7 separate regions of the Homo sapiens genome follow, and all the other regions are linked to region 5. The links are contacts of gene promoters, found by promoter capture Hi-C in blood cells and fetal thymus (Javierre and others, 2016). All regions are on one chromosome and are shown on one strand. The core of a region is centred on a gene start or on the middle of the fragment in contact, and the rest is flanking DNA. Distances in the headings are between cores, read along the strand shown. Region 1 overlaps LDAH (lipid droplet associated hydrolase). Region 2 holds the start of LOC124907740 (a long non-coding RNA gene). Region 3 has its middle 3.3 kb from the start of TTC32. Region 4 overlaps WDR35 (WD repeat domain 35). Region 5 holds the start of SDC1 (syndecan 1). Region 6 overlaps WDR35 (WD repeat domain 35). Region 7 overlaps WDR35 (WD repeat domain 35).

The links. Contacts are between HindIII fragments. The CHiCAGO score rates a contact against its expected background, and 5 or more counts as called.
Region 1: a fragment that was not itself captured here is called in contact with the fragment with the promoter of SDC1 in region 5 in 1 of 17 cell types (neutrophils); the score reaches 5.2 in neutrophils.
Region 2: a contact is called between a fragment that was not itself captured here and the fragment with the promoter of SDC1 in region 5, in 3 of 17 cell types (neutrophils, non-activated CD4 T cells and erythroblasts). The highest score is 9.5, in neutrophils.
Region 3: a fragment that was not itself captured here is called in contact with the fragment with the promoter of SDC1 in region 5 in 1 of 17 cell types (M0 macrophages); the score reaches 5.2 in M0 macrophages.
Region 4: a fragment that was not itself captured here is called in contact with the fragment with the promoter of SDC1 in region 5 in 8 of 17 cell types (M2 macrophages, M1 macrophages, M0 macrophages and 5 more); the score reaches 16.3 in M2 macrophages.
Region 6: a contact is called between a fragment that was not itself captured here and the fragment with the promoter of SDC1 in region 5, in 6 of 17 cell types (M0 macrophages, M1 macrophages, M2 macrophages and 3 more). The highest score is 13.7, in M0 macrophages.
Region 7: a fragment that was not itself captured here is called in contact with the fragment with the promoter of SDC1 in region 5 in 2 of 17 cell types (M2 macrophages and M1 macrophages); the score reaches 8.2 in M2 macrophages.

The regions. Positions count from the first base shown.
Region 1 is chr2:20,685,585-20,689,812 of GRCh38, forward strand. LDAH (lipid droplet associated hydrolase) reads right to left here. Exons shown (of 7, transcript NM_021925.4): 7 at 1-1,510. The coding sequence ends at 1,319. Among named protein-coding and RNA genes, the nearest start is that of GDF7, 21 kb to the left of the region's middle. The HindIII fragment of the contact is 2,355 bases long and covers 357-2,711 here.
Region 2 is chr2:20,634,749-20,638,846 of GRCh38, forward strand. HS1BP3 (HCLS1 binding protein 3) reads right to left here. Exons shown (of 7, transcript NM_022460.4): 4 at 3,688-3,904. It overlaps LOC124907740 (a long non-coding RNA gene), which reads right to left and starts at 3,681. Exons shown (of 2, transcript XR_007086243.1): 1 at 1,485-3,681; 2 at 1-254. RefSeq lists an enhancer at 996-1,045. The HindIII fragment of the contact is 1,769 bases long and covers 455-2,223 here.
Region 3 is chr2:19,903,151-19,907,328 of GRCh38, forward strand. No RefSeq gene overlaps it. Among named protein-coding and RNA genes, the nearest start is that of TTC32, 3.3 kb to the left of the region's middle. The HindIII fragment of the contact is 2,822 bases long and covers 1-2,780 here.
Region 4 is chr2:19,960,887-19,965,145 of GRCh38, forward strand. The region is part of intron 10 of WDR35 (WD repeat domain 35); the gene reads right to left. Among named protein-coding and RNA genes, the nearest start is that of WDR35, 27 kb to the right of the region's middle. The HindIII fragment of the contact is 832 bases long and covers 1,947-2,778 here.
Region 5 is chr2:20,223,490-20,227,226 of GRCh38, forward strand. It overlaps SDC1 (syndecan 1), which reads right to left and starts at 1,641. Exons shown (of 5, transcript NM_002997.5): 1 at 1,313-1,641. The coding sequence starts at 1,378. RefSeq lists silencers at 8-207, 618-1,077, 1,098-1,157, 1,198-1,617, 1,678-2,057 and enhancers at 1,609-2,288, 2,289-2,968. The HindIII fragment of the contact is 9,225 bases long and covers 1-3,737 here.
Region 6 is chr2:19,944,313-19,948,315 of GRCh38, forward strand. It overlaps WDR35 (WD repeat domain 35), which reads right to left. Exons shown (of 27, transcript NM_020779.4): 14 at 3,852-3,905; 15 at 2,149-2,258; 16 at 1,474-1,684. Among named protein-coding and RNA genes, the nearest start is that of WDR35, 44 kb to the right of the region's middle. The HindIII fragment of the contact is 1,628 bases long and covers 1,940-3,567 here.
Region 7 is chr2:19,928,933-19,932,872 of GRCh38, forward strand. It overlaps WDR35 (WD repeat domain 35), which reads right to left. Exons shown (of 27, transcript NM_020779.4): 23 at 3,351-3,515; 24 at 2,337-2,477; 25 at 1,464-1,620. Among named protein-coding and RNA genes, the nearest start is that of TTC32, 29 kb to the left of the region's middle. The HindIII fragment of the contact is 3,370 bases long and covers 218-3,587 here.

The sequences.
Region 1 (4,228 bases), core at 284-2,783, 460 kb after region 5:
AGGGGGCTTTAGGATTTGAGCGGAGGGACATCTCATTGTCCTTAGGGAATGATAATGCCATGAGGGATTTCCTCTAGGAGAAAAAGGAATATTTCTGATCCATGATCAACTGTCACTGCAGTATGTGGTTCTCAAGATTGAGTCAATTTAGGGGAGGCAGCAATATTGTCAGCCCACTCTAGGCCAGGGAATATGTGTCTTCTCTGCCATACCTCAATGTGTCTAGAGAAGGTGAATTCACATAACTTAATGGCTGGGTTTGGTTCATTAACAAAATAATTTCTTTCCAGCAAATGAAGTTAATGCAGAAATGGAGAGTTAATGTATGGCAATGTTTTACTGAGCAGTTTAAAAGAAGCTTTTAAAAATTATTCACTAGAAGATTTCCAGAAGAAAAGAATCATTAAGTAGCTAAGAACTCCATCCTCAATGGCTAGCACACTATTTGGCTCATTGATGGTCTTTAATGGAGTTTTAGTGCAAGAATTACAGAAGGAGCAACTGTACGTTGGCACATCCAAGCCTGCTTTGGGACAGCCCAGTGCCTCTCCATCCTGGCTCTGGAGAGGAGGAGCCTGCAGGGAGCTTATAACCTGGGAGGCTAAGGCTCAGCATAGAACTTGCTGGTTGTCCTGTGGCAGGAGGCACAGTTGGGGTCCTTCAACAATTCTTTATCTGGTTAGCTGACCAGAGTAATGTCTGGTGAACTTTATTCTCTGTCTAGTGCAGGTACATTAGACGTCACATTGATGATCTCAGCCAAGATCTGTGCTAAGTTAGCCTGGGCTCATCTTCATCTTCTGTCTTACAGGAGACCCAGGTTCACTTCCTGCTCCTGGAACATGAGTGTATCCTTGTCATAATCTCATACACTTCACATATCTAACTATACTCTTAACATTCACTGATTTATTTTACATTTTCTAGTAGGTATTTCATAATTTCCTCCAGAGGAGCCTATTCTACAATGTAACTCAATTAAAATCAAGTACATGTAGATTTTTTTTTCATCTGCAAAGATCCTGCCTACCAAAATAAACCATATGGTGCCACTGGGCATCTTGTGCAAACACAAGACTCTGTGTAGATCACTGTGTTCCCTGAGTCTTGGAAAATGTATGGTTAAACCTATGGAATGATTCATCAACTGTGTTTACTTCAGCCTATAACATGGCGAGCGGAGAGTTGGTTTGTAAGACAAAGGTTCTCACTTTCTTCATTTCTAATATCAGTCTTCAAAATTAAACATTTACCTACTAAGTCTAGTACACTGACTGCCTCCATGTACTGGCAGTGGGGGCTTGTTCCTCAGGCCAATTTACATTTTGGACAAGTCATCCTTTAGGGAGTCAGCAATCATGTCTGCCATTTCCTGGTTAAAATGGGTGATGAAAGCATGAGGTATGTTTTTCTCACAGAGTCGAATGTCTCCTTCTGGAAAATCCTTCTTAATGTCTTCATAGTACTCTTTTGGACACCAAGGATCTATAGTACCATAATAAAATGTAAGCTGAAAGACAAGACAAAAACCTTTTATTAGAAAACACGTTCCCTTCCTGACACAGATATGACACCAGCAGCCGGCAGTGCTCTGAGGACAGCACCTACGCCTGACCCTGGGAGCTAGTCCCTAAGCTCTCTCCAGAGTGTGGCTCTCTCAAGGCAGCAAGGCTTCACGATGTACAGGAGTGCACTTAGAAGAATTTGGTGGGAAGATCCCCATGCTGGGAGACTCTTGTGTGATAGATCACTCATAATTCACTGAAACGACTTACCAGGAAAGTTTTGTGTACTAAGGTTGGGATGGACACTGGAATGAAGGCCGGTGAGGATGACGAAGACAGTTATTGAGACATAGTCACTGAATGACTAGTGACCAGTTAATAAACTTAGTTGTTTCCAAATAGCCACATGGTAGTCATATGGGATGTATTTGTTGAATGAATACAAACACAGATCAGATAGACTCAGGCTTTCCAATGTAGCTGATGAAATGTGATCAGAATCCTGAGAGAGTTTATGACCTTTCTAAGAAAAGGCTCTATGCAGCCTGTATGTTGATTCAGTGGGGAAGTGCAATAATCATACTTCAATTGACAGCAAGCAGCTGAATGGAGACAGAGCCTCCTCTGTGGCATTACTAAGACCCTGAATGGATATCTACCTAAACCTGCATGTGATATATATGTATATTGCTCTAGGCTGCTGTGTTTCACTGAAAAACTGCTATGTTCTAGTTCTGTTAGTTCTAAAAATAAAGGCAACAAAGCAACATCTTATATTCAGAAGAACAGATAGTGGCAATTTCTACAAAAACCAAGAACTAAATCTTAAGGATCCTTTGACCTCTGTTATCACTGAAAGACAGAGCTATGCCTAGCTCCAGCCCCTAGTTGGCCAGCTGTAGTCACTTGCAGCTTCCCTAATATACCAAATGTGCTCCTTCATTCAGACACTGAATTGCTTACTCATTCCTTTGTTCATCAAATACAAATGGAGCACCTACTTTGTATTAGGAACCTGGAAAATAGAGATAAGACAGTCTTGGGGGGAGGGGAGAAGGGGACCCCATGTATACAAGACAATTTGAGAGCTCAGGTGAGGTGCAGCTGGTCAGAAGTAGTAGGCAGGAAAGATTCCCCAGAGTTGATGCCTCAGTTGAGTCTTCAAGCTGGGGCAGCACACTGTGGGGAGAAGACCAAGCAAACCAAAGCTTGAAAGAGCATGGCATGTGTGGGGAACTGGAATTCCACATGGCTGGAATATAGGGTGGTGGGAGATAAGACTGGAGAGGCAGAGAGGGATGAGGTCATGGACAGCATCTTCTATGCATGCCAAGGAGGTTGCGCTTTATCCCGAAGTCCACAAGGCAAAAAAGACTGCACAGTGAAGTGACATGCTGAGGTCCCTATGTCAGGAAAACCACTCTGGCCACAACGAGAAGAAGGATTGGAGGTGATCAAGTGCTGGGGGAGGAGAGTGCAGGGAAGCAGGCGTTATTGCTCACTGGATAGTTTGAGTGTATCAATTATTAAATCCATGACCTGAATATGGGACAGATGAGACTGATCTTACGAAAACAATGGCCTTCATTACAATAACATGATGCCTTAACCAATATTTAGATGGTTAGTTAAAAACACTTTATAGAGGAAAAAATTTAACATAGTACTCCAGAGAGTAAATTATGAACAAGTAAACCTCAAGTGGCAGACTTACTCTGAATTGCTTCATGGAGGTTTCCTTTTTTTTTTTTTTTTTTTTTTTTTAATTATACTTCAAATTCTGGGACATGTGCAGAGTGTGCAGGTTTGTTACATAGGTATACACGTGCCACGGTGGTTTGCTGTACCCATCAACCCGTCATCTACATTAGGTATTTCTCCTAATGCTATCCCTCCCCTACCCCCCATCCCCTAACAGGCCCCGGTGTGTGATGTTCCCCTCCCTGTGTCCATGTGTTCTCATTGTTCAACTCCCACTTATGAGTGAGAACATGCCATGTCTGGTTTTCTGTTCCTGTGTCAGTTTGCTGAGAATGATGGTTTCCAGCTTCATCCATGTCCCTGCAAAGGACATGAACTCATCCTTTTTTATGACTGCATAGTATTCCAGCTTCATGGAGGTTTTCTTGGTTGTTACCTGGGGTTCCAGTTTTGCACGCTGCAGAGGACCTGCAACTTACAGATTTATCACTTAATTCATTCTTTGCATTCTCCTACTTTTCCTCACTCCAACCATTTCTGGGCATTCCAAAGCCCCTAAAGCCAGAATTCATTTTGCCATGGTTCTTAGCAGAGTAAGAACTTCTTTTGCTTCCTAGAGAATATGAGAGCCTAGCAGTTGCCTAGTTCTTCCTCCTGGTCTCAGCTCTTTCTGTAGCTCTAAAATGCTGCAACCTCACAACCAGTGGGAGACTATTCTTTCCACTAGTAGAAAAACACGTTTCCCCGGATCTCTCAGCAACTACCCTGCTATAGCTTTGCCTTGAAATACTGTCAAGAGTACAAACTATTTGCAGGTATTAATTATCTACCAATAGTGCTGATAACATTAGGCTCTCTCTAAGCTACTCCCTATATTTACCACCAGCAATCTTTTCGATTGTATTCAGGGAATAGGATAGGGAACAGTCGCTATGCAGTTACTCAGCACTTCCTCAGAGCAGGGAACACTGCTGAGAAATCTGGAAAGTCAGACTTGGGTTCATACCTGTCAGGTCTGTTCC
Region 2 (4,098 bases), core at 89-2,588, 410 kb after region 5:
ATACTAAAATACATGTGGTTGTTTTATGAAAGATGAAGCAAAATCCATATTAAAAAACAACCATAAAACGTGGCATTCCAGAGAAACATCCAGCTTCACCACGGAGGCCACAGCACGGGGACCCGGGTGTGGGCTCCCCCTTCCAGGGAGTCTGGGAAGACCAGCTTTGCAGGCAGGTGCATTTGTTCATACAGGAGCCAGCCTGTCCCAAGGACGCTGTGAGTCCTCAGGGACCCAGGGCCTGGAGGGGGTCCCTGTGTGCAAAAGAAGAGGTGGGAGGAGTGGGCCCTGAGGGCGGGGGTGGGCAGGGCTTAGAAAAGCAGAGGGGCCTCCCAACAGAGGGGCTTCAGCCCTTAGAGAACCTTTTACTGGAATGGTACCCCAAAGCCCCCAGAAGCAGCTTCAGGGACCTTGCTCTGGGGCACGTATATAGGGGAAGGCTCCATAGAATAAAAGCTTTGTATATGTAGAAGTTCCTCAGGTTATTGCCTGTAATAGCAAAAACCTACAGAAAACCCCGCCACGCCCACAAGCAAGGGCCTGGTAATGCCACTTACAGCCCATCGAGCTGAGAAACCAGCAGAGGAAGGAGGGAGAGTGCAGCTATTGATCTGGAAGGACCTAGAACATGTAAGCTGGAAAAAAGCAAATTCCAGAACGGCACACAAGACAATCTCATTTTGGCAGTAAGATGTGAATATTCAAAGGTGCATTCAGAAATTCACAGGGAAAGGACTTTTATCTGTGTTTGCAATTTTTCTATACTAATTGTGTGTTATTTGAGTCACAATGAAAAAGGTTTCCCGCAGAGGATTTCCAGCATAAGGCAGAACTATTAGGGTAGAATGTCAATTTTCTCAGCACCGTGACATTCTAAAATAGAAACTTAAATACAAAACAGGGGCGACATGGAGCAGCAATCGGGACAGACCATAGGGTGGAAAAGCAGAGTACGAAAAGGCACGTGCATTGTGCCTGCGGTTGCATGGATGCTGCTGGGACGGGGTCAGAAGAGAGCCCCAGCAGATGGAGAGAGCGGTGGTGTTGGGATGGGCCGAGGTGAGGGCTTTTTCTATCTTTAATTGCTCTCTAATGGTGTAATAACGCTCTCTTGTCCCTAATCAAAACCAGGTTTAAAAGACAAAGAAAAGCCAGGCCGGCCTGGGCTCCGGCTTTGTGCTGGCGACTCCCACCCTCCCAGCAGCCCTGCCGTGGAGCAGCCCTTCAGCAGAGCAGCAGCGCCTCGCCGCGGCCACGGCGGGGAAGGACCGAGGCTGGTTGCATGGAAATGGTGGCCGCTCCAGGAGAGCCCAGAGCTAAGCCCAGACATGGGGCAGGGCAAGCTGGGAAACGGGTGCCGCTGCATCTGCACAGGAACCAAGCGCACGGGAGGGAGAGGGGTGCACAAACAGCCTCCCGAGAAGAACAGAAAGTCCCCCACCAAAGGGCAGGTGGGTGGCACCAAGAGAGATCAACAAGCCCACCTGGGTGTCTGTGAAAGGCCGAGGTGGAAACCCAACTTCAAGGTACGGCTCTGCCACACACACAGCTCTGGAACACACACGGCTCTGGCCAAGATCCTGCTCAACTCCTTCCTCGATTTTACCATCTGTGAAAGGGGGATAATCCTGGGGCCCTGCCCACCTCCCAGGCTGATAAAGACTGGACTGGAGATGGCGTGGGGTCCTGGCTCTGCCATCTGCAGGCTGCAGGAACGTGGACGAACCACCTGACCCTGAACTTGAGTTTCCCACCACACAGAAGAGGCTGATGCCAGTGCAGGCCTCCAGGGCTCCGTTTCTTGACCTGTGCCCACAGTGGATCCTGAAAGCAGTTTGGCGAGTCATGACCTTTCCAAACGTTGAAATAGAATAGAAAATATCCCAGTACAATACACTTAGTAAGGTTTTGTATGAGTTCTGGGAACTTTTGCTTCAGTTTTATGGGATGTTTATACATGTGTGTCCTGGGTCATGGCGTACCATATAGTTTTTACTATGGGTTGTAGCAAGTAGTTTCAGAAATGCTGTCTTACAGATATAATGAGATCATGCAAGCAAATGCTAACTTAGTTCCCAGCATTTCATAAACTCTCAAAAAATTTACTTATTATTCCTGACAGAGGTGATAACGTTGATTCATCAGCACCTTGTCACACGGGTCCTTAAAAAGAAACCCCAGCAGGGGAGGGTCTTAAGCCGGCAGGATTACTCTTAGGTGCTAAGCTTTCCCAGGATTCAGGGGTGAGGGCCCCAGAGTACAGAGCTGGGGAGGGGGCTGCCCCCGCCCCCCCCGCCCCGCCAAGGGGTCCCAGGATAGCTGACACATCTCCCCTGACAATCTGCTAATGAAGTAAGTAGGAAGTTCAAGGCAGCACTTGCCAGCCACAAAGAACATTTTCCTACCCAAAAAAGGAGCCGCTCGGCTAAGTGTGTTCTTCAGCCAAAGGTTGGCACAGACCACCAAAGTCCATCTCGGTTTGGCACTACGTGTGGTTACTCAGAACAACAGAGAATGTGAGTTCAAACAAAGCCTCACCCTTACCAAAATAAAGCCCAAGAAAGGCCTGCCGCGTTGGGCCAGGCTGATAAGGAGTGACTATTACAGGCTTGTCCCCATATCACCCACTACTCTGGCTGCCTCTCCCTCAGGGCCGCTGACCCCACTCAGGGACAAGGCCAGCCACGGAGGGCCAGGAGGAGCGACTGCAGGGCACTTGCTGTGCCCAGGTGCCGCAGGACCCCAGATCTCAGGCCTGTTTCTGCTGCAGCTCCCTGAGCGCCGCGTACCCTTTCCCAGTGCAAATCCTCACCCCTGGACGCTGGTCTCATGGCCACCCTGCAGCCCACCCTCCCATAACCCTCCCCACGAAGAAGGCCTTTCCAGAGTGGGCTGTGATTTTAGGAGAGAATTCTACATGCTGATGAAGTTGAACTTGCTTCTGCCTAATTTCTACTGGGCTCTAATTCCTTTCTGCGGCAGGACCTACACTCATCTGGCGCCCGAGGGCTTTGGTAAACGGCTAAGAGACATTCGTTGTGGTAGAGAGCGGGGAGGACAGCACCCCTGGCCTGGTCTGATTCCACTGAAAGATGGGGCCATGATGGTAGCTGATTGCTAAATTTACATAACTCAGTTCATCGTCACAGGAGCCCTAAGAGGTTGATACGACCATGAGTCCATTTTCACTGAGGAAAACCGAAGAAAAGAGATTGTAAATGGCCAGAGATGTATGGCTGGTGAATGGCCCTGTGTGGAGGCAGGGCCAAGGTGAATGCTCCTGCTATGCAGATGATGCAGCCCAGAGAGCCGCAGCCACCTCTGCGAGTCCCACAGCTGGAAGGAGCACCCAGTCCTCCCACACTAGCCGGACAGGCCCGCAGCCTGCACTACTGAGCTGTCACGGAGGACTCTACCAAGCCCCAGTGCGGAGCCACAAGTGGAGGACATCCTGTGACCCGAGAAGGGAGGCGACACCTAAGCCCAGTCCCAGAGACATGCACACCACCAAGGGCACGCAGAGAGCTACTTCCCCCAACACACCAGGCCAAGGCCTCGTGGCCCAGATCCCTGCGAGGGGGCGACCTGGGATGCTCAGGGCTTTTCTCAGATTCCAGGGAAGGGGGACGTCATCTCCAGAAAGCCTGGAATACACCAAAGGGGCCCTCTCAACAACAGGAGACCAACCGCATAATGCCCAGAGGGTCCAGCGCCTCCTCCTCCTCCAAGGATTCCTCAGCATCCTCGCCCTTCAGGCTCTGGACGGGCGGACCCTCTTCTGCCACTTGGTCTTGCTCCTCAAAAAAGTCGAAAGCCTCTTCATCATTCCCTGTCTGACTGTCTGTGCCATCCAGGACAGAGGAATCTCTGCTGGTGAGCCCTGCAGCCCCTGGGGATCTGGTACCTGTGGAGGAAGACAGAAAAGAATGGACTTGGTAACCACCCCAGAGCCAGGGGAGGCATCTTGCCACACTGCACCCTCCCATGCCAGGATCTGAGGCCGAGGGCTTCCTGCAGCCTCCTGGGACCAAACTCGTCCCTCCTGGGACCTAAGCAGGATGGCGAGTCTGGGTGGATGGAAGGTGACCTCCGTTTCGG
Region 3 (4,178 bases), core at 120-2,619, 320 kb before region 5:
CAATGTCATCTTTTCAATATGAAAAAAACAAAACAAAAAACAAATCTGAAGTACAGGATAGAACAAAACCAAGTGTGTTGGGGGAAGCAACAGCAAAGGGAAGACAAGATGTTGCAAAAAAAAAAATGGAGGGGGGATTCCCCTCTCCTCTGGGGAATGACTCAAACACTGATGTGGCAGCGTACACTATTCTACATAAAGCCAGGGATGTTAATCCTTTTGGGGGATAAGAAAAAGTGGAGATGGCCAGGCTCTGTGGCTCATGCCTGTAATCCCAGCACTTTGGGAGGCCTAGGCGGGCAGATCACCTGAGGACAGGAGTTTGATAACAGCCTGGCCAACATGGCAAAACCCCGTCTCTACTAAAAATGCAAAAAATTAGCTGGGCGTGGTGGCGGGTGCCTGTAATCCCAGCTACTCATGAGGCTGAGGCACAAGAATCCCTTCTGGGTGGAAGTGGTTGGCAGTGAGCTAATTTTTGTATTTTTTGTGGTGATGGGTTTCCCCATGTTGTCCAGGCTGATCTCCAACTCCTGGGTTCAAGACATCTGCCCACCTCAGCCTCCCAAAGTGCTAGGACTACAGGCATGAGCCACCGCACCTGACTAGAAGTTTTGCTTTGTTCTGTTCAAGGAATAACAGGAATATTTATGTGTCTAAAAACCAGTGATCTAAGAGGAAAATAGCAGGATATGTAATGGAAATTGGGGATTTGGGAAGGGGGTTTCTAAATAGGAGTAAGATTCTTAACCTTTTTTGTGCTATGGCACCTTTACAAGTGTGGTGAAGCCTATGTCGTTTCAATGTTTTCAAGTGTTTTTAAAACATAGGATTACAAAGGAAAGGAATTATATTAAAAAACAGTTGGAATATTAACAGATTTATTAAAAAGTAAAACATTTATTAACATTAAATATCAAGAACAAATGGCAAACACAAAACTAGCAGAGGAAGAAAATAATAAAAGATCAAAACACAGATAAAACAAAAATGGAATCAACAAAACCAAAAGTTGGTTCTTAAAAAGATTAAAAAAGTTAATAAAACTTGAGCTAAATTGACTACGAAAAAGGAAAAGACTCAGATTACTAAAATCAGAAATGAAAATGGGAACATTACCATCAATTCTACAGAAATAAAGAGGATTATAAGAGAGTACTATGAACAATTGTATGCTGAAAAATGGGAGTAACTACATGAAATGAGCAAATGCCTAGAAACAAAAAACCTACGAAGATTGTATCATGAAGAAATAGAAAATATGAATAGACGTGTGTATTAGTCTGTTCTCACACTGCTAATAAAGACGTACCCAAGACTGGGTAATTTTTTTGTTTTTAAGAAAAAAGAGGTTTAATGGACTCACAGTTCCACGTGGATGGGGAGGCCTTATAATCATGGCAGAAGGCAAACAGCACGTCTTACATGGCAGCAGGCAAGAGAGAATGAGAGAACAGTGAAGGGGGAAATCCCTTATAAAACCATAAGATTTTGTGAGACTTAGTCACTACCATGAGAACAGTATGGGGGAAACTGCCCCCATGATTCAGTTTTTTCTCCCACCGGCTCCCTCCCACAACATGTGGGAATTATGGGAGCTACAATTCAAGATGAGATTTGGGTGAGGACACACACAAACCATATCAACCTGTAACTTGTAAGGAGATTCAATCAGTAATCTAAAAATAACCTCTTGACAAAGAAAAGCCCTGGACCTGATGGCTTCACTGATGAATTCTACTAAATGTTTAAGGAAGAACCAACACCAGTCCTTCTTAAGATTCCATTTAAAAAATGGTTATAACTAATGAATTCAGCAAGGTAGGAGGATATGAAATCAACATGCAAAAATCAGTTGCATTTTTATTCACTAACAATGAAGCTATCCAAAAATGAAATTAAGAAAACAATTCCAGCCAGGCACAGTGGCTCACACCTGTAATCCCAACATTTTTGGAGGCCAAGGTGGATGGATCACTTGAGGTCAGGAGTTCGAGACCAGCCTGGCCAACATGGCAAAACCCTGTATCTACGAAAAATACAAAATTTAGCCAGGTGTGGTGGCAGGCACCTGTAATCCCAGTTACTCAGGGGGTGAGGCAGGAGACTCACTTGAACCTGGGAAGTGGAGGTTGCAGGGAGCCAAGATTGTGCCTTGCACCACTGCACTCCAGCCTGGGCAACAGAGCAAGACTCTGTCTCAAAAAAAAAAAAAAGAAAGAAAAGAAAACAATTCCATCTACAGTAACATCAAAAAGAAAAAAATATTTAGGAATTAATCAAGAAAGTAAAAGATGTGTACAATTAAAACTATAAAACATTGCTAAAAGAAATTGAAGAAGACATAAATGGAAAGACATCTCATGTACATGGATTAGAAGACTTAATATTGTTTAGATGTTAATATTATATAAATCAATCTTCAGATTCTATGGAATCCTTATCAAAATCCCAATGATGTTTCTGCAGAAATAGAAAACTCCATCCTCAAATTCATATGGAATTACAAGGACTCCCAAATAGCCAAAACAATTTTGGAAAAAGAACAAAGTTTAAGGACTCACTTCCTGATTTCAAAACTTACTGCAAAGCTGCATTACCCAAAACAAGTGTGTTATTGGCATAAAGACAGTTTTTTAAACAAATGGTGCTAGGAAAATTGGATATCCACTACAAAAGAATGAAGCTGGTCTCTTACACCATATACAAAAATTAAAATAGATCATGACCTAAATATAAGAACTAAAATTACAAACTCTTAGGAAAAAACATATGGCAAAAGCTTAACAACACTGAATTTGGCAATGATTTTGTGAATATGACATCAATGGCACAGGCAACAAAAGAAAAAACTACACAAATTGGGCTTGACAAGAATTTAAAAACCTTTGTGCATGAAAAGACACTATCAGAGTAAAAAACAGAATATTTACAAGTCATGTATCTGATAAGGGATTAATACCCACACTATATAAAGAACTTCCAAAAACAACAATAAAGCAAAACAATCCAATGCAGAAATGGGCAAAGGATTTGAATAGACTTTTCTCTAAAGAAGATACACATATGGCCAATGAGAACATGAAAAAATGCTCAACGTCACTAATAATTAGGGAAATGCAAATTGAAACTACAATCAAATACCACTTCTCACCACTCCAGTAGGATGGAAACTATTAAGAAGAAATAAGTGTTGGTGAGGATGTGAAGAAACTGGAATCTTTATGCACTATTGGTGAGAATGTAAAATGGTGCAACCACATGGTGTGACAATTCTTCAAATACTAAGAATAACCATTTGATTCAGCAATTCCACTTCTAAGTATATACCCAAAATATCTGACAGCATGGTCTTAAAGAGATATTTACACATCCAGGTTCATAGCGGTATTGTTCACACTAGGTAAAATGTGGAAGCAATCCAAGTGTCTATCAACAGATGAGTGGATAAGCGAAATATGGTATACTCATACAATGGAATATTATTCAGTCTTAAAAAGAACAAATTCTGCCACGTGCTACAACATGGATGAAACTTGAGGACATTACATGAAGTGAATTAAGCCAGCCACAAAAAGACTGAATGATTCTATTTTTATGAGGTACCCAGAGTAGTCAAATTCATAGAGACAGAAAGTAGAATGTGGTTGCCAGGGACAGCTTTAAGGGGGATAGGGAGTTATTGTTCAATGAGCATACAGTTTCAGTTTTGCAAGATAAAGAATTCTGAAGATGGATGGTGGTGGTGGTGGTGGTGGTGGTGGTGGTGGTGGTGGTGGTGGTGGTGGAATATGAACAATATGAATGTACTTAATAAATATAGTTAATGCCACTTTAACTGTACACTTAAAAATGATTAAGATAGGCAAGGTGCAGGATCTCATGCCTGTAATGCCAGCACTTTGGGAAGCTGAGGTGGGAGGATTACTGTGCTAAGGAGTTTGAGGCTGCAGTGAGCTATGATTGTGCCACTGCACTCCAGCCTGGGTGACAGAGCTAGACCACGTCTTGTAAAAAATTTAAAAAAAATTTAAAAATGATTAAGATAGTAAATTTTGTGCTATGTCTATTTCATCACATAAAAAATATGGAAAAATCAAGTGGCAAGTGTGTTTTCTGTAAAAAGATCGTTGCAACAACATTGCATTGAAGTCATTATTACTGTATTTCTATTGATT
Region 4 (4,259 bases), core at 1,113-3,612, 260 kb before region 5:
GGCTACTTTTCATCATTTATACAAGGGGTCTTCAAAAAGTTTATGGAAAATGTGTATTATGGAAAAAATAAGCATGGATTTAAAAATTGTTTGCATCAAAATAAACGTGCACTAACTTGTTAAAACATGTTTGAACAGGATCTAGTTTGAAGCACTAAGAAGGAGATGGCAGCAGTTTGAAAAAAAGCCCTGTCAAAGAAACATTAATTCTGCTAAAATTGAAGCAAGAAAAAACATCAAATTTATGGTGCAGCTTGGGTGGAAGAATGGTGAAATCATCAATCCTTTATGAAAAGTTTATGGGGACAATGCCCTAAAGAAATCAGCAGTCTACAAAAGGACAACTCACTTTAAGAAGGGACAAGACAAAGTAAAGATGAAACCTGCAACAGCAGACCATCCATGTCAATTTGCAAGGAAAAAATGAATCTCATCTTGTTTCTGCCCTAATTGAAGAGGACTAACAATTAACAGCAGAAACAATAGTCAACACTATAGACATCTCAACTGGCTCAGCTCACACAATTCTGACTGAAAAATTTGAGTTAAGCCAACTTTCCACTCAATGGGTGCCAAATCCGTTGCACCCAGATCAGCTGCACACAGGAGCAGAGCAGTAAATGGAAATTTCAAACAGGTGGTATCAAGAACCTGAGGCATTTCTTCAAAAATTGCAAAAGGAGATGAAACATGGCTTTGCCTGTATGATCCTGAATGCAAAGCACAATCAAAGCAATGGTTACCAAGTGGTGGAAGTGGTCCAGTCAAAGCAAAAGCAGACCGCCAAGAGCAAAGGTCATGGCGACAGTTTTGGGGGATGCTCAAGGCATTTTGCTTGTTGACTTTCTGAAGGGCCAAAGGACAATAATGTCCACTTACTATGAGAATGTCTTGAGAAAGTCAGCCAAAGCTTTAGCAGAAAAATGCCTGGGAAAACTTCACCAGAGTCTCTCCCCACCATGACAATGCTCCTGCTCATTCTATTCATCAAACAAGGGCAATTTTGCTAGAGTTTTGGCGGGAAATCATTAGGCATCCATCCACTTTACAGTCCTGATTTGGCTCCAGACTTCCTTTTGTTTCCTAATCTTAAAAAATCCTTAAAGGGTACCCATTTATCTTTAGTTAATAATGTAAAAAAGACTGCATTGACATGGTTAAATTCCCAGGACCCTCAGTTCTTTAGGGATGGACTAAATATCTGTTATCATTGCTTACAAAAATGTCTTGACCTTGATGGAGCTTATGTTGAAAAATAAAGTTTCTATTTTTATTTTTATCTGTTAATTCCATTTTTCCATGAACCTTCTGAAGTCCCCTCATATTGCTACAGTTTCTGATCAGCTATAACCTCAAAACTCATTTTTATCCTATGATCAGCTATATAAGAGCTAATTTCATTTGTTACCGTTGCACCAAATGTCTCCATCTCGTTCTCCTCCTTTGAAGCAATATATAAATGACAGGAGAAATTCAGAAAAATTCAGTTAACTCAAAAAAGACATGACTCAACCTAATGAAAGTGGCTTATATACAAATAATCATCAATGACCAATATTAGGAAAATAATCAAACGTAATGCACATTTTACATCACATTGTTTTAAAGTGATCATTTCATTTTTCTTACTGTTAGTCTCTGTTTCTGTATCTTGTACTAAGAATACTATTCTACTTAGATGTTTTTCCTGACTAGAACAACAATTTCAAATAAAGCAGTTCTTTATGTGCTATTTACACAGACTTTTTCTTTTTTCAGCATTCGATTAAAATTTGTTTAATTACTCAAAACATCTCAGGTACCCCATAGATAACATACGTCTACTATTACCCATAACATTTAAAAAAAAATAAAAAGAACTCATTGAATTAATTTCATAAATATAAACCAAATAATAAAAATCATATTTTAAAAAATCATAATTTACTCTTCCACTACTTAAAATAAGCTTATTTACTGCCACAAAATACCACAAATTGTATTTTTAATATATTTTTCATTTTTATCAGTTATACATGCTAGTAGTTCCAAAAATCAAATAGATCCACAAGGCTTCTTACTAAAAAATGGCAGTTCCCCCTAAGTTCCCATTTCCTGCTCCCTTTACCGATCCTTTTGCTATTACCTCCACAAATCTAAGTAACGTGTTTATACTGCTACTTGTTTTATTTCAATTTAGTCCATTAGCTCTTGCCTCCCCACTACAAATGACAAGTCTTTAGCTTTCTTTCATTCCCTTTTCCACCCCACCCCTACCACACAGGGGCACCTTTCCATCCCTCTCTCTATTTTTAATACCATTTTGTCGGATCAGAATTTAGGGTTCAGTATGTTTATTATACTTCAATTAAAAGGTGTTTTAAGTTTAAAAAGGGTGATTACATCATTTTGACTATGTAAATGCTATTCACAACTCAGCCATCAAGTGTATCATGATTTATTTTCTTTTCAAGCACATTCTGCTTTCTCTGTAGTCGATAATTGTATTTTTTCTCTTTGATTAGTCTTCTATGGGCTTATTACTAACACAAATCCCCAATTATCCCTGAATTATGTATATCTTGCTGCAAGGGCTCAAATATGTCAGGTAGTCTATTGTTATCCCCTTAAATTTCTCTTGGAGCCTTCTGACCTCTCATCTGACTCACTGGACACACTGCACCATGGTCAGCTGGTACTTTCTTCCTCACTGGTGTCCACTCTACTGTTTCTTCTGCTTTCTTGGTTTATTCCTCATTTTGTTAGACTATTTCCTAAAGTAACTTCCTAAGATAGGGAAGCTTGGAAGGGAAATTTTTAGTGAGTTACACATCTAAAAATGTCTGTATTCCACCCATTTATTTATTTATTTATTTATTTATTTATTTACTTACTTTGAGACAGAGTCTCACTCTGTCGCCCAGGCTGGAGTGCAGTGGCACATCTCGGCTCACTGCAGCCTCTGCCTTCAGGGTTCAAGCGATTCTCCTGCCTCAGCTTCCCAAGTAGCTGGGATTACAGGCACCCGCCACCACACCTGGCTAATTTTTGTATATTTAGTAGAGATAGGGTTTTGCCATGTTGGCCAGGCTGGTCCCAAACTCCTAACCTCAGGTGATCTGCCCACCTTGGCCTCCCAAAGTGCTGGGCTACCCTCATATTTAATTAGTAGTTGACTTACAGCTATGGAATTCTAGTTGGAAAACTATCCCTGCAAATTTTGAGGCAATTCTCCAAACCATTGCTGTTGACAAATAGAATGCCACTTATGATCCTTGACGTTATGAAATCTGTTTTTCCTCCCTGAAAGCTTGTAAGATTGTTTTCTCCCCAATGTTCTGAAATTCTACAATGATGTGTCTCAATGTGGAAATGTTTTTATTCACTGAGCTAGGCACTTCCAATCCAGAACGTCAAGGAAAATTTTCTTGAATTTTTTTTTCATACTTACTGCCCTGTATTTTGTATATTTTGCCTGTTCACTCTTTTTTTTTCTTTTTTCTTTCTTTTCTTTTCTTTTTTTTTTTTTTTCTTTGGAGACAGAGTCTTACTCTGTCTCCCAGGCTGGAGTGCAGTGGCGTGATCTCGGCCCACCGCAACCTCCGCGTCCTGGGTTCAAGCAATTCTCCTGCCTCAGCCTCCTGAGTAGCTGGGACTACAGGCACACGCTGCCACGCCCGGCTAATTTTTTCTATTTTAGTAGAGACAGGGTTTCACCGTGTTGCCCAGGCCGGTCTCGAACTCCTGAGCTCAGGTAATCTGCCCACCTCGGCCTCCCAAAGTGGCCTGTTCACTCTTTTTAGAAATATTATTGAAATGCTAAGCTTCCCGGACTGGTCCTCTAATTTTATCTTTTCACCCCTATTTTCCATTTCCTTGTCCTTTTGCTTCACTTTACAAGTGTTTTCCTTCATTTTACCTTCTAATCCTCCAGCCAAAGTTTTCATTATGGTTATCCTATTTTTAATTTCCAAAAACTTCCTCTTCTATAGTATCCTTTTCTTATTTTATGGATGTAATATCTCTTAACTCTCTGAAGGTAATATTAATGGTTCTTTCAAAATAATTTTTTTTTTTTGAGACAGAGTCTCACTTTCGCCCAGGTTGGAGTGCAATGGCACGATCCTGGCTCACTGCAACCTCTGCCTCCCGGGTTCAAGCGACTGTCCTGCCTCAGCCTCCCGAGTAGCTGGGTTTACAGGCTTGCGCCACCATGCCCAGCTAATTTTGTATATTTAGTAGAGACAGGGTTTCACCATGTTAGCCAGGCCGATCTCGAA
Region 5 (3,737 bases), core at 391-2,890:
ACCGCCACTTCCGGAAGGGGAAGCGCCCCTGGCTCCGCACCTCCCCTCTGCATCCCTGGGGATGGCCGAGCCGGCCCGCAGGAGGGACCCCGGGACGCCAGCACCGGGCGCGGGGGCTGGGGAGGCGAACTCGGGCGGCAGACTCGGGCACCGGGCGGCCCGCGCTGACACCTGGCTGCGGCCCAGGTCCCAGCCCCCGTCAAGGCCGGCGTTACGGGGCTGTTCCCAGGAAAGGGTTACAGGGGCCGAGAACAAAGCGCCCCCATTGGGGAAGGCGGGCTAGCGGCCGGTGGCCGGGGCGGGAGAGCCACTTTCTGGGGACCCTCAGGCTGCTCTTTGTCGGCCACGTCCCTCTTTAGTGGAGCGTCAGCCCCGCTGAAGGTGGATGCTGCATCCCACCCAAAGGCCTCTTACAGCCCCGAGCTCCACATCTGCCCCTCTTTTCTCCCAGCTGCACTGGGCGGGCCAAGGGACCCGCCTTCCCTCCGCGCGGCTTCAGCACAAAGCCGAGCCGGGGAGCGGGAGGCCATTCCCGGGTCCCCTCGCGTGGAAGGCGCCTGCGCCTCGGCCGTGCCCGGCACGGGAACGCGCCCTCCGGGGCCAGCTCAACTTCAGCAGCCCAGAAGTTGGGCTCCTCCGGGTCTCCAGCGTTCCGAGGCCAACTTCCCGGAACCTCCCGCTGCCGGGCCGGCTCAGCTCACCTCGAGCCGCCCACGGCAAGCCCGAGGGCCCTGCAGACGCTCGCCCGCGCCCCCCACGCAGCCCTGGCCCGGCTCCCCGGGCCAACGCGGCCGCCTCCCGCTCCCGCGCCGGCCGCGCTGCGCCCAAACTTGCCCTGGCGCAAGGGGCGGGGCGCCCGGGCTCGGCGGCGCTGGGGCGCAAGCCCGCGGGTCTGGTTTGAATTAGGGTCTGCAGGGGGGGCGTTGTGGCCGCGGTCACTGCATCCCCCCGGGTCACCGACGGGGGCCCGGCCGCCGCGGTGGCCGGGGCGAGGAGGGTGGGAACGGGCGACCCCGGGCGCCGCTGTGGGCTGGCGGGCTCCGACAGATGTGGAGACGTTTTACATAATTGAGCGCGGGGCCCCGGCCCCCCACCCTCCCCAGCGCGGGACCGGTGCGGCACCCACCGACAGCGGAGGAAATTGGGGCTGGAGCCCTGGTCTCGGGGCTCACCGTCCCGGGACCCGCTGGGCTAGCGCGGGAAGAAGGGAAGTCTTCGCTCCCCCTCCCCCTCCACGTGCACCCGCCGGCATCCGCGGGTGACCAGTCCCGGCTTCCCGCCGCCTCCCCGCCTGGCCGCCGGCCGCACTCACCGGCAGGGCCGGCTGCAGGCTCAGCGCCAGCGCGCACAGCCAGAGCCAGAGCGCCGCGCGCCTCATGCTGCCCGGACCGGCGGCGGGAGAGCGGCAGGCTGCGCGGGTCGCGGCTGCGGGCCGGCTTCGCGGGTTCCGCTGCTCGATGCTCTCTTGGGCGCCTGCCCAGCGCGCCGCTGTCCCAGGCGAGGGCTGCAGGGTCCGCCGGCTGGAGTCCGCTCTCTACTGCCGGATTCCTCTCCGCTCGGCTCGGATTCGGCCCGCACCTCTCCCGCCGAGCTCCGCCTTATAATAAACCCACAGGCCCTTCCTTAGCCGTTGCAAAAACTGGCCCCCCACCCCCAGCTCCGCCAGGTCTCCCGGCCAGCCCCAGTCCACACCCCCCAGGACCCCGCCCCCCAGCCACCCCTCCCGGCCCCTTCGGAACGCCCCACCCCCGGCCCGCTCCTAAGGTTCTTGCCTGCTTGGCTCCCGCTCCTCCGGTGGCCGAACGTCGCTTTCGGGAGCTGTGGTCCCCGCAAGCCGCGGTTCCCGGCCTTTCAGCTCGGCTGCTCCCTGGGTGGTGGGGCCGAGGCGCACCCCCTTCTGCCCGGGCCCGGAGTGCGGAGGCGCAGCCCGGGAGAGGGGCTGAAGGGGGGCAGGCAGTCCTCGGGCGCGAGTGTGCAGCGCCCTCTGGGCGTGGACGCGGAGCGCGCTCCAGGTGCGCAGGACTCCTAGCTCTCTTGGGGAACGCTTTCTGGGGCAGGGCGGGGACCCGGGGGCGATGGGGCCTTCAACCGACGGGCAAACACACACAGACACACCCCGGCTGTCCTCCAGCTGCGATGCGGCTCGCTGCGCCCCGCCGGCCCAGATTCTCCCGTACGCTCGCGTTCTTCCTGCACTCCACAAAGTGCTGGAGACTTGGGGCCTTAGTTTAAACAGCTGCACCCGCACGGAAGGGCTGCAAGAAAAAGGGGGACGGGGGCGGAGTTCGCAGCGTTTTTCTGTGGAAGACAACGCCCTCTCTCTTCATCTGAGCTAAAAGGAAAAATAAGTAACTTCTTTGTTCCCCGGTGACCTCGGGCACGCGGATCTGAGGAGCACCGTGCAGTTGCTGCTCCTTCGAGATCCCCTGCGAGGCCCTGGGCCTCAGTTCAAAAAGCTGTGGAAGGCCTGCGGGTGTAGGGGAAACGGCCGAGAGAGCAAAGGGGAAGAACCGGACGGGCCCTGCCCACATCTGGCAGGCAGGAGAGATGGTGCCAAACGACCTTCGCACCTGGGCCCTGAGACCAAAGATGGCGTCGTCCTCCCCTGTCTTCCCTAGGCGGAAGGCAAGAACTTGGGTCGGCCTGAGCTGGGGACCAAGAAAATATCGGGAAGTGTCCAGTGTTCCTCTTTAAAAGAATTAAACCTTCCTGGGCCACGCAGGGACTGACCGTGGGACCCTGGACTCTCCTCCACCTTCCACCGTGGAGCAGGCTCTGGAGCCGAGCAGCCTCCTGCGTCCCCATCTCATCCCCCCACTCCTCCTCACAGCACTAAAAGATGATGGCCTGCTTGTACCCCTGCTCCTGAGCACCTGTTTGACCTCAAAGAGCTCTCGCTTTTGGGGTGTCCGTCTCCCCAAGTCTGTCTAGGGGGCAGGAAGACCTTCATCAGGGTTCTTGGGGGCCGATGTGGGCTCGCTGAGTGCCTGAGTGATGGATGGTCTCACAGCACGGCACCACGGAGGTCCAGCCGAGCTCGAGGAGTCCCTGTGGATTAAAAATGCCCTTTTCGAAGGTTCTACCTCTACCAGAGGGTGGCTCCACAGATCCCTTCAACCCAGTATGGTGGAAAAATAGGAATTTTGGAATCTTACCTTTCTCTACTGCTCACAACAGAGGAAACTGGGGTCAGGGAGGATTTGATGGAGTCTTTTCATTTTTTAAAAGTCACTCACGGCCAAGCGCGATGGCTCACGCCTGTAACCCCAGCACTTTGGGAGGCCGAGGCGGGCAGATCACCTGAGGTCAGGAGTTCTCGACCAGCCTGGCTAACACGGTGAATCCCCATCTCTACTAAAAATACAAAAATTAGCCGGATATGGTGGCAGGTGCCTATAATCCCAGCTACTCGGGAGGCTGAGGCAGGGAGAATCGCCTCGACCTCTCGGGTTCAAACAATTCTCCCGCCTCAGCCTCCTAAATAGCTGGGATTACAGTCGCACGCCACCACAGGCCGGCTAATTTTTTATTTATTTATTTATTTTGTATTTTTAGTAGAGACAAGGTTTCACCATATTGGTCAGGCTGGTCTTGAACTCCCAACCTCAGGTGATACACCCGTCTCGGCCTCCCAAAGCGCTGGGATTACAGGCGTGAGCCACCGTGCCTGGCCCTTATACTTGTCTTCTTGAGTGCATGTGTGAGGCTTTCTCTAGAAGTAGAGCTCTGGATTATAG
Region 6 (4,003 bases), core at 1,504-4,003, 280 kb before region 5:
AAGGCTGTTCTGTTAAAACTACTTAAGAAACTCTTTCCACCAGGCAAAGATTTCACTTGGTACCAGACTGACCATGTGTGCTATAGACACATTATGAGCAGCCAGATACAACAAACATTCTCCCTTCTCCAGGCATATGATTTGTGATTTAGTATGAGCAGGGCTAAGGATAGAAAAAGACTCTAACATTCAAAAAGTATTCTACTCCCATCCTCAAGGTTATCCTGTGGATTACCTGTCAAATTCCCACAATTGTTTTGTGGCAAGGATTAAATTTCCCTTGGACCCTTGAAAGAAGCCCATGCTTACAGGTCAAATGCAGCAGCCCTGAATCTGAATGCCTTTCCTTTGAACTATTTCTCAGGGTCGAAGAATCACAAAGATCCTAAGACTTGCAAAAGCTTTAACAGAGCCTTTGAGAGCACTTTACATCAGGGCATTTTACATCCAAAATTCCTGAGTAGGGCTCAAATGGGGAAATGTGAAAATAATTTAGGATATTAAAGGGGCAAACAGTTTACCACTAAATAAATTACTCCAGAAACCCTTTGGCAGCTCAGGGGCCCAAGCATGCAATTTCTTCCCAAGAAGGAAGCTATACATGCAAACAAATGGAAATTAATGATATAAAGCATTTATTAACTTATTCCTTATTATTTACAAGAGTAGAGTGCAGCAGAAGTACAGAAAATTCCAAATTGAAAATCCATTACTAATTCAAAAGTCATTTAAAAGATTTATCTTCTTAATGATGTTTTGATTAGGTTACCACTCGGATTATTTTGTATTTCCTAAATACAACAGCTGAGAGTTGGCCAGAGTAGACTAAGTGACAGGAAAATCCAGAGCATAGAAATTAGCTGATGTGAGCCACAAGCAGAAAATCAAAATGTAACCTTAAAAATGAGAACAAAGGGGACTTCCTCATACCCAAAAGAGAGATTAATCCCTGCCTGCACTTGCATATTTGTAAGAATATCTGGGTTAAGAAAGAACACAGATTTGTGAACGATATGGTAAATGTAAATATAAATAAGACAAAGTAAGCACAGAATTAAGTGAATAAAGAGACAGAAAAGAATGAATGGACAAGGAAATTTGAAAACTATATTTTTTTATTAGGTTCTTTTCAGAAATTCTGGTAAATAAGGCTACTGATTTTGTTTTCTTAAGTTTGACAAGGGAAAAAAAGACTAGTGACCATGGCTCCACCTTTTAAAAAGAACAGATAAATAAATGCCTAGGAAGTACCTTTCAGAGAAAGTAGAGAATATTTAATAGATAAGTATTTTCTCACCTAAGACCAAATATTTTTAAAATCCACAGAAATGTTCCTATTTATTTTCAGAAATTCATGCAGCCGTGTTGGCACTGCTATTCAACAAACTTCTTAAAGAAACAAAGGGGAATCATCCAGGTTTTTATATTTGGCTCATTATTTATAGACTGTTAACACTCATTTCTTGTTTTTACCTCAGGATCCAAGTTTCTGAAAACATACATTCTTGTCTTCTCCATCATTGCAAACAAATCAGGATTATCTTTGGCCCACTTCATATCCCAGACATCTCTTCGTTCCAATTTTAACAACTCTCCAACTACTTGCTGTCCCGTACTGTCCGTTACTCGAGCATCCAAGTCAAAGAAAGTCAGAACTCCTGAGATGTCTATGATAGCAAGACGGCTAAAAACAATGCAATTAGAGAAAAGGAAAAAACTATAAAATTACTATCAGCAATCATGAGAATAATTACCTATAGCCATTCTTCTTCAAAATCAGATTATCAGAAACCTGGAATACAGTAGAAATGGCTTAAAATTTTGTTAAATAAATTTGATACAAGATATGGACTACTCTCTATTTTGCTCTCTTCTGAGGAAAATGTATCCAGAGACAAAACCAATTGGTATGAAATATAAAATAGTCTCAATGCTTTTAAGCTTTAAGAGTAAAAAATTATACTAGTACTTCCACACGCCCAATTAAAAACATTTAAACCAAATGCAGTATAAAATAAAACCATACTGAATTTTAAGACAAGTTCATAATAGACACGCCCATCTTTACATTTATTACATATAAATCTAACAATCCCAACTGATCATTTCTAAGTCTAACATCTACATGAGCAGAGTTTTCAGGCTTACCTAGAGTTGCAATTCAAGGATAACTGGTAGGCTCGACAATTAAGGGAATATTTTTGAATCAAACCAACATTAGGTAGACTGTATCTCTGAATGGTGCCAGATTCACGACCCTATGGAAATTACTTTTGATTACTTAAGCATACGTGTATCATAATAATATTAAACTACAACTATTTCTCTATATGTCTATACATTTGTCTTAAAACCAAAGTGATGTCACAGCAAATTCTCAATTCTGATAATGAATCATGTCCTTAAGTACATATTTACCTACTAATTTAATTAAACCTTTTTCAAACAGCTGAAGTATTCTAATTTTTTTTCATGTAATATTCAAGAAAGAAGTCAGAAACCTAGCACTTTGGCAATACACAAATTCTTACATCACAAGGAAAAAAAATCTAAAGTTATTTATATTTGTTATCTAGGTTAATATTCAGGGCACATTAAAAGCTAAAGCAAAGTACTTGTTGAGTTAAATTACATATGTATATGAAAAATCAACAGAAGATCATATGATATAGCTGTTACTGAAGGTCTAGGTTTTTATCCTATAGTCATCTATCTGATACTAGTTTTTAGCAAAAGGAAAGATGATCTGAATGCAGGGATACTATGAATATTAGTTTAAATAAGTTTAAAAAATAAAGCAGCATATAATTTTGTACACAACTCAGGGCAAATCTTAAGGTTGACATATCAACAGTAAGTATAATGCCATGAGAGAACTGTGGGTTTCAAACCCTTGGCTGCCTCAGGCCATGGCAGTGGGACAAAGTGGAAGCCTCCACACAGCTGATCTTTAACTCTCTTCTTTTTAATCAGAGAACCACTGCTTTTGCAGCATGAGTCTCATGAGGGCTTATCAGAAAGGAGGGAATACTATAGAAATACTATGCTCTTAAGATTTTTCCCCCCATAAAATTAGCTCATGGCTGAGGAATGTAACTAGAACTAGAATATATACTATTAAGGTTTTGTTTACATAATTCAAATGCAATAACCCCAGCAGCATTACTGTATAAAAGTAAACATTAATTTCTAAAATTAATATTTTCAAATCTCAGAGCTCAAGAAAAGACACTATGCCATTGATTCTATTTGAAAAATTCAGCTGAAATTTGCCATAGGCTTCTCTATTTTACTGGCTGGCAAACATGTTACCTCGTCATTCTAAGTCTTATGAAAGTGGCTGAGCCAAAGCACTTTCTCCAACATAAAATATCGGGCTACACAAAGGAGGAAACTTTCTAATACCTACTACCACCATGCAATCTGCCCCACCACCATGCAATCTTCCACAGGGCTCATTCCACTCAGTGTTAGAAACTGTAAGTGTACTCTGTCTTCTCGGCTGGTCATCCCTGTACTGCTTTCATAAATAGCTGTTTTTGCAAATGGTTAATTATTAGCGAGGAAAGCTTTAAAACTTTCTTATTTCTCATACTGAACTTATATTAAGGGTACAGTAAAACTTGGGGTGCCCATAAGATGATATTCAAAACTTTACTGTAATTTTTTTTTTTAGAGACAAGGTTTCACTATGTTCTCAGTCTGGTCTCCATTTCCTGGCCTCAAGCAATCCTCCTGCTTCAGCTTCCCAAGTAACTGTGATTACAGACATGGGGCACACACCTGGCTCCTACCATATTTTTATAATTTAAAGAATTATTATTCATAAAATAAGTTTTTGCAAAACTTACCACAATCAATATCTTATCTGATGCAGTTATGGCACAAATTGGATCCCTTGTGCCCTAAAATAAATTAATCAATCATTACTATTCAACAAACATTTATTGAATAACTAACCTGGTACAACGTAGTATGCAATTCACTAAGCAGTCAATATTTC
Region 7 (3,940 bases), core at 653-3,152, 290 kb before region 5:
AGTAGCTGGGACTACAGGCACCTGCCACTACACCCAGCTGATTTTTTTGTATTTTTAGTAAAGACAGGGTTTCACCGTGTTAGCCGGGATGCTCTCGATCTCCTGACCTTGTGATCCACCCGCCTCAGCCTCCCAAAGTGCTGGGATTACAGGCATGAGCCACTGCACCCGGCTGAGGAAGATACTATTATCCTTTCTTTACACAAAGAGAAACTGAAGCTTAGAAAGGATCAAGTAACTATAACTTATAAATGCTAGGGAAAATCAATATATATGAAAGACGATTATTACATATGGTCTCTAAAGAGCTCTTATAAAAATAATTAAAAATAAAAATCATCACTATAGAATTCCAGAAATATTCAAATAAAAGAATTTCTCTAAAAGTTTTCTTTTAATATCATGCCATTGGAATACAGATTCATGATGTATTAGGATTAGAGTGTGATGTGCATATGGTGATGATGTGAGCAGCAAATGGATGATGTCACCAATATGACAGAGGAAGGGTGGGGTGTCATGACAGTGCTTGCCATGGCCAAGCTGAAAGACCAGTAATGATTTAGTCATTCATATGCTTTGGCTTACAACATAATTATCATAATTACACTCTCTGGAGTTCATATATCTAAATTCTAGAATATTGTTATTGTTAAGAAGAAATTGAGATCCTGATATTACATGTAAATAATCTTCTATCAATTACAGTATACAAATACCATGGAATATTAGGTAGAATGTTTATATAGATCTCTGTTTAAGAATGAGGAAAGAACTATAATATACTGCTGAGGGAAAAAACCATGCTCCTGCATGTAGAAACATCTAAAAGGAAGTTTACCCAAACCTTAGCAATGATTACCTCTGAGTTATAGGATTATTTTACAAATTGTTAGATTATTTTACTTTTTCTTCATATTTTTCTGTTTTGGTTGAAATTATTAGCTAAGTATCACTTTTATAAAACACAAGATAAATGCTATAGCAATGTATATGTAAAATATGGAAATATTTTAAAACGTGGTTTTCAAAAAGTACATAAAAGTATGCCATGTTATACTCCCGATATTGTAAAGAATAAAATTATCTGAATGTATGTATTAAATATATTTTATGTATTTAAATATATGTATTAAATATATTTAATAGATATATGTATATATATTTTTCTCCAAAAAATATGAACTTGGCTATGAAGTATTTAACTTTGAATGGCTAGCCATATGAATGCTATACACATTCTTTTTGCTTATCTCAAATTTCTGACATTTCTGTGAACTATGTGTTTTCTCTGTATTAAAAAAAACTTCAAAAATGGGAATGCATAAGACTCAAACATAGGAAAATAAATCCATAGGAAAAAATGTTATTGAAGGCCACATAAAGGCAAATTGAAGAAGCTAGCCCTTCATACTCAATTTATAATTTTCAGACATACTATACACATTAGGTGACATGCCCACCTGTCTTCAGTGCAGTGTCCACACATCCCTCATAGAGCTGCCTCTGTGCAAGTATAAAGAAGTGGTAAGCCTCTGCCCCTCTCCATGCATTATCTGTGAAACGATCTGTTGTAGACAGAACTTCTTCTTCCAGCAAACCAGCCAAGGCAGAAGTGGCCTACGAGTAAAGTCAGCCCACACTTTCCGTCAGCACAAACGCACACACAGTGTCAACTCCCAAATAACAACAGTCATTAAAGTATCTAAATGAGCAGATTTTATCATTACAAAACTATGATTACAGACTTTTTTTTTTAAGAGATGAGGTATTACTCTGTCACCCAAGCTGGAATGCAGCTGCGTGGTCATAGCTCACTGCAGTCTCAAACTCATGGACTCAAGTGATCCTCCCACCTAAGCCTCCCTAGTCACTGAGATCACTGGTGTGAGCACTGCACCCAAAACAGATTTAATTTTTTATTATAATTCATAGTTTGTTAAACTGGTATGAATAAATTTTAAAATATAACTAATTAGATTCTAAGTTAATCAGACATTCATTTACGCATTACAACAATATATCTAGGAAAGTTTTAAAACTCACTGATTAGAAAGGAAGATTTCCCAGGTAAGTAAAATTTTTTAACAAATAAGACATTAAAGCAAAGACTACAGATTAGTATTACAGAAAAACAATTTCAATATTTCTAGGTAGAAATTTCTGAATTTGAATACTAATTCTAAATCAGTCATTCTTTTTCTTCATATCATTTAAGGAAACAAATGCAGACATGCAAATTAAATGACCTATCCATAAAAGAAGTTTAATAGTTTCTTTTTTTTTTTTTCTTAAACACTTCCAATGATGTAATGTTATTTAACGTGCTACTTTACCTCTGAACTTTTTCCTTTAACTTTTCCTCGCTGGGCATTCTTCATCTGTTCATGGTATTGCTCTATAAGTAAGGCTGACAGTACATAGAGCTTCTTGACACGTAAAGGTTTACTTCCTTTCTTTGCCTCTTCATCTGCAATCTTAAACATTTTTCAAAATTGAGGGAAGTTACTTCTTATCTATATTTGTACAAATACAATCATTTCCAAAACTAACAAATTTGATTCCCTAAAAAAGGAGGAAAATCAGTAAGATGGAATATAAATATCACCTATTTAAGATAAATATTTTAAAACCTATCTTCTTTTCATTAGTACCTATTCGTATTTAGTTCTTTCCTTAGTATTTAGCCCTAGGAGTTGGAATTCAGATCACTCTTAGAAAATGAGAGGTGCTGTTAGATAACTAAATCAGAATAAAGAAAGTATTGATGAAATGCTGGTATTTTCCATAATACAGAGATTTTTAAAATAATGTTCCAAGTACACAAAGATATGATAGTGTTAACATGGTGCATCCTTCAGAAGCTGAAACTTATTTAAATGATTTTAAGAGATATTTTTCCTTTTTCATTAAATCAAATGGGAATAGAATAGAAGGTAAAATGTGTATACATTAATACTGTACTAATTATCTTCCCTCCAAATAAATATTATGTAAAGCGTAATATTTAAAACTTGTACATTTAAAAGAACTTAAAACTCTATTATCAACAAAATTTAATTCCCTGTTGTAGAAATTTGTACTTTGCAGTCTCAGTAATTTCTTTAACTCTTTGTTAACTCCAGTATTCAACATACAATTGTTTAGGTATTAGTAAGTTGCTAATATTAATAAACATCTTTGTTGGTAAAAGGCAATAATACTAAAATAATGTATACAGAAGCAATAAAACCAGAGTGGTTTTGCTGTAATAAATATTTGTTTCCAAAGAAAATGGAGAATATGCTCTTTCATATATTAAAATATTGTGACTGGAACAAATCAACTATTCACCAAGATTTTTACATTACCTTAAACATCAGTTTAGCTGCATCAAAAAAGTAATTGGCTTTCCGATAGAGTTCTATGGCATCAAGAGTTTTATTCTTTTCCAGTAAATGAGATGCATACCTAGCTAACAGAGATCCAATTTCTTTCATACTATGATTTTTAGCCAATTCAACAGCTTTGTTCCACTAGGAGAAAAATTACACCATTCAGTCACCCAAGTATTTACAGTCACATATATCATAAAATTCACACAAGAAAGCTTTAAGTTTATAGTAAAAACACTATTTCAAAATTAAAAACTGGTATGTTTTAAAAATAGCATTTAAAATCACAGCAACATAAGTCCTATAAGCATAAGTCAAAATGATTAAATGATCTCTAAGACTCTGATTTGCTTAAGAAATACATGTGAAAATGAAAGTTTCAAAGTTTATAATCATATTAATCTTGTAATTCTAATCTTACAAAACTTCAAGCAAGAAAGATACACTTGTTTATATGTTATAGTAAAACAAAATATGCAATTTCAGTTGTGAAAATGTCCTATCAGATTTGACATTTAAAAATTATTTTTATAAAGCAAAAGGGGTTTTAAAAAATAAGAAAAATA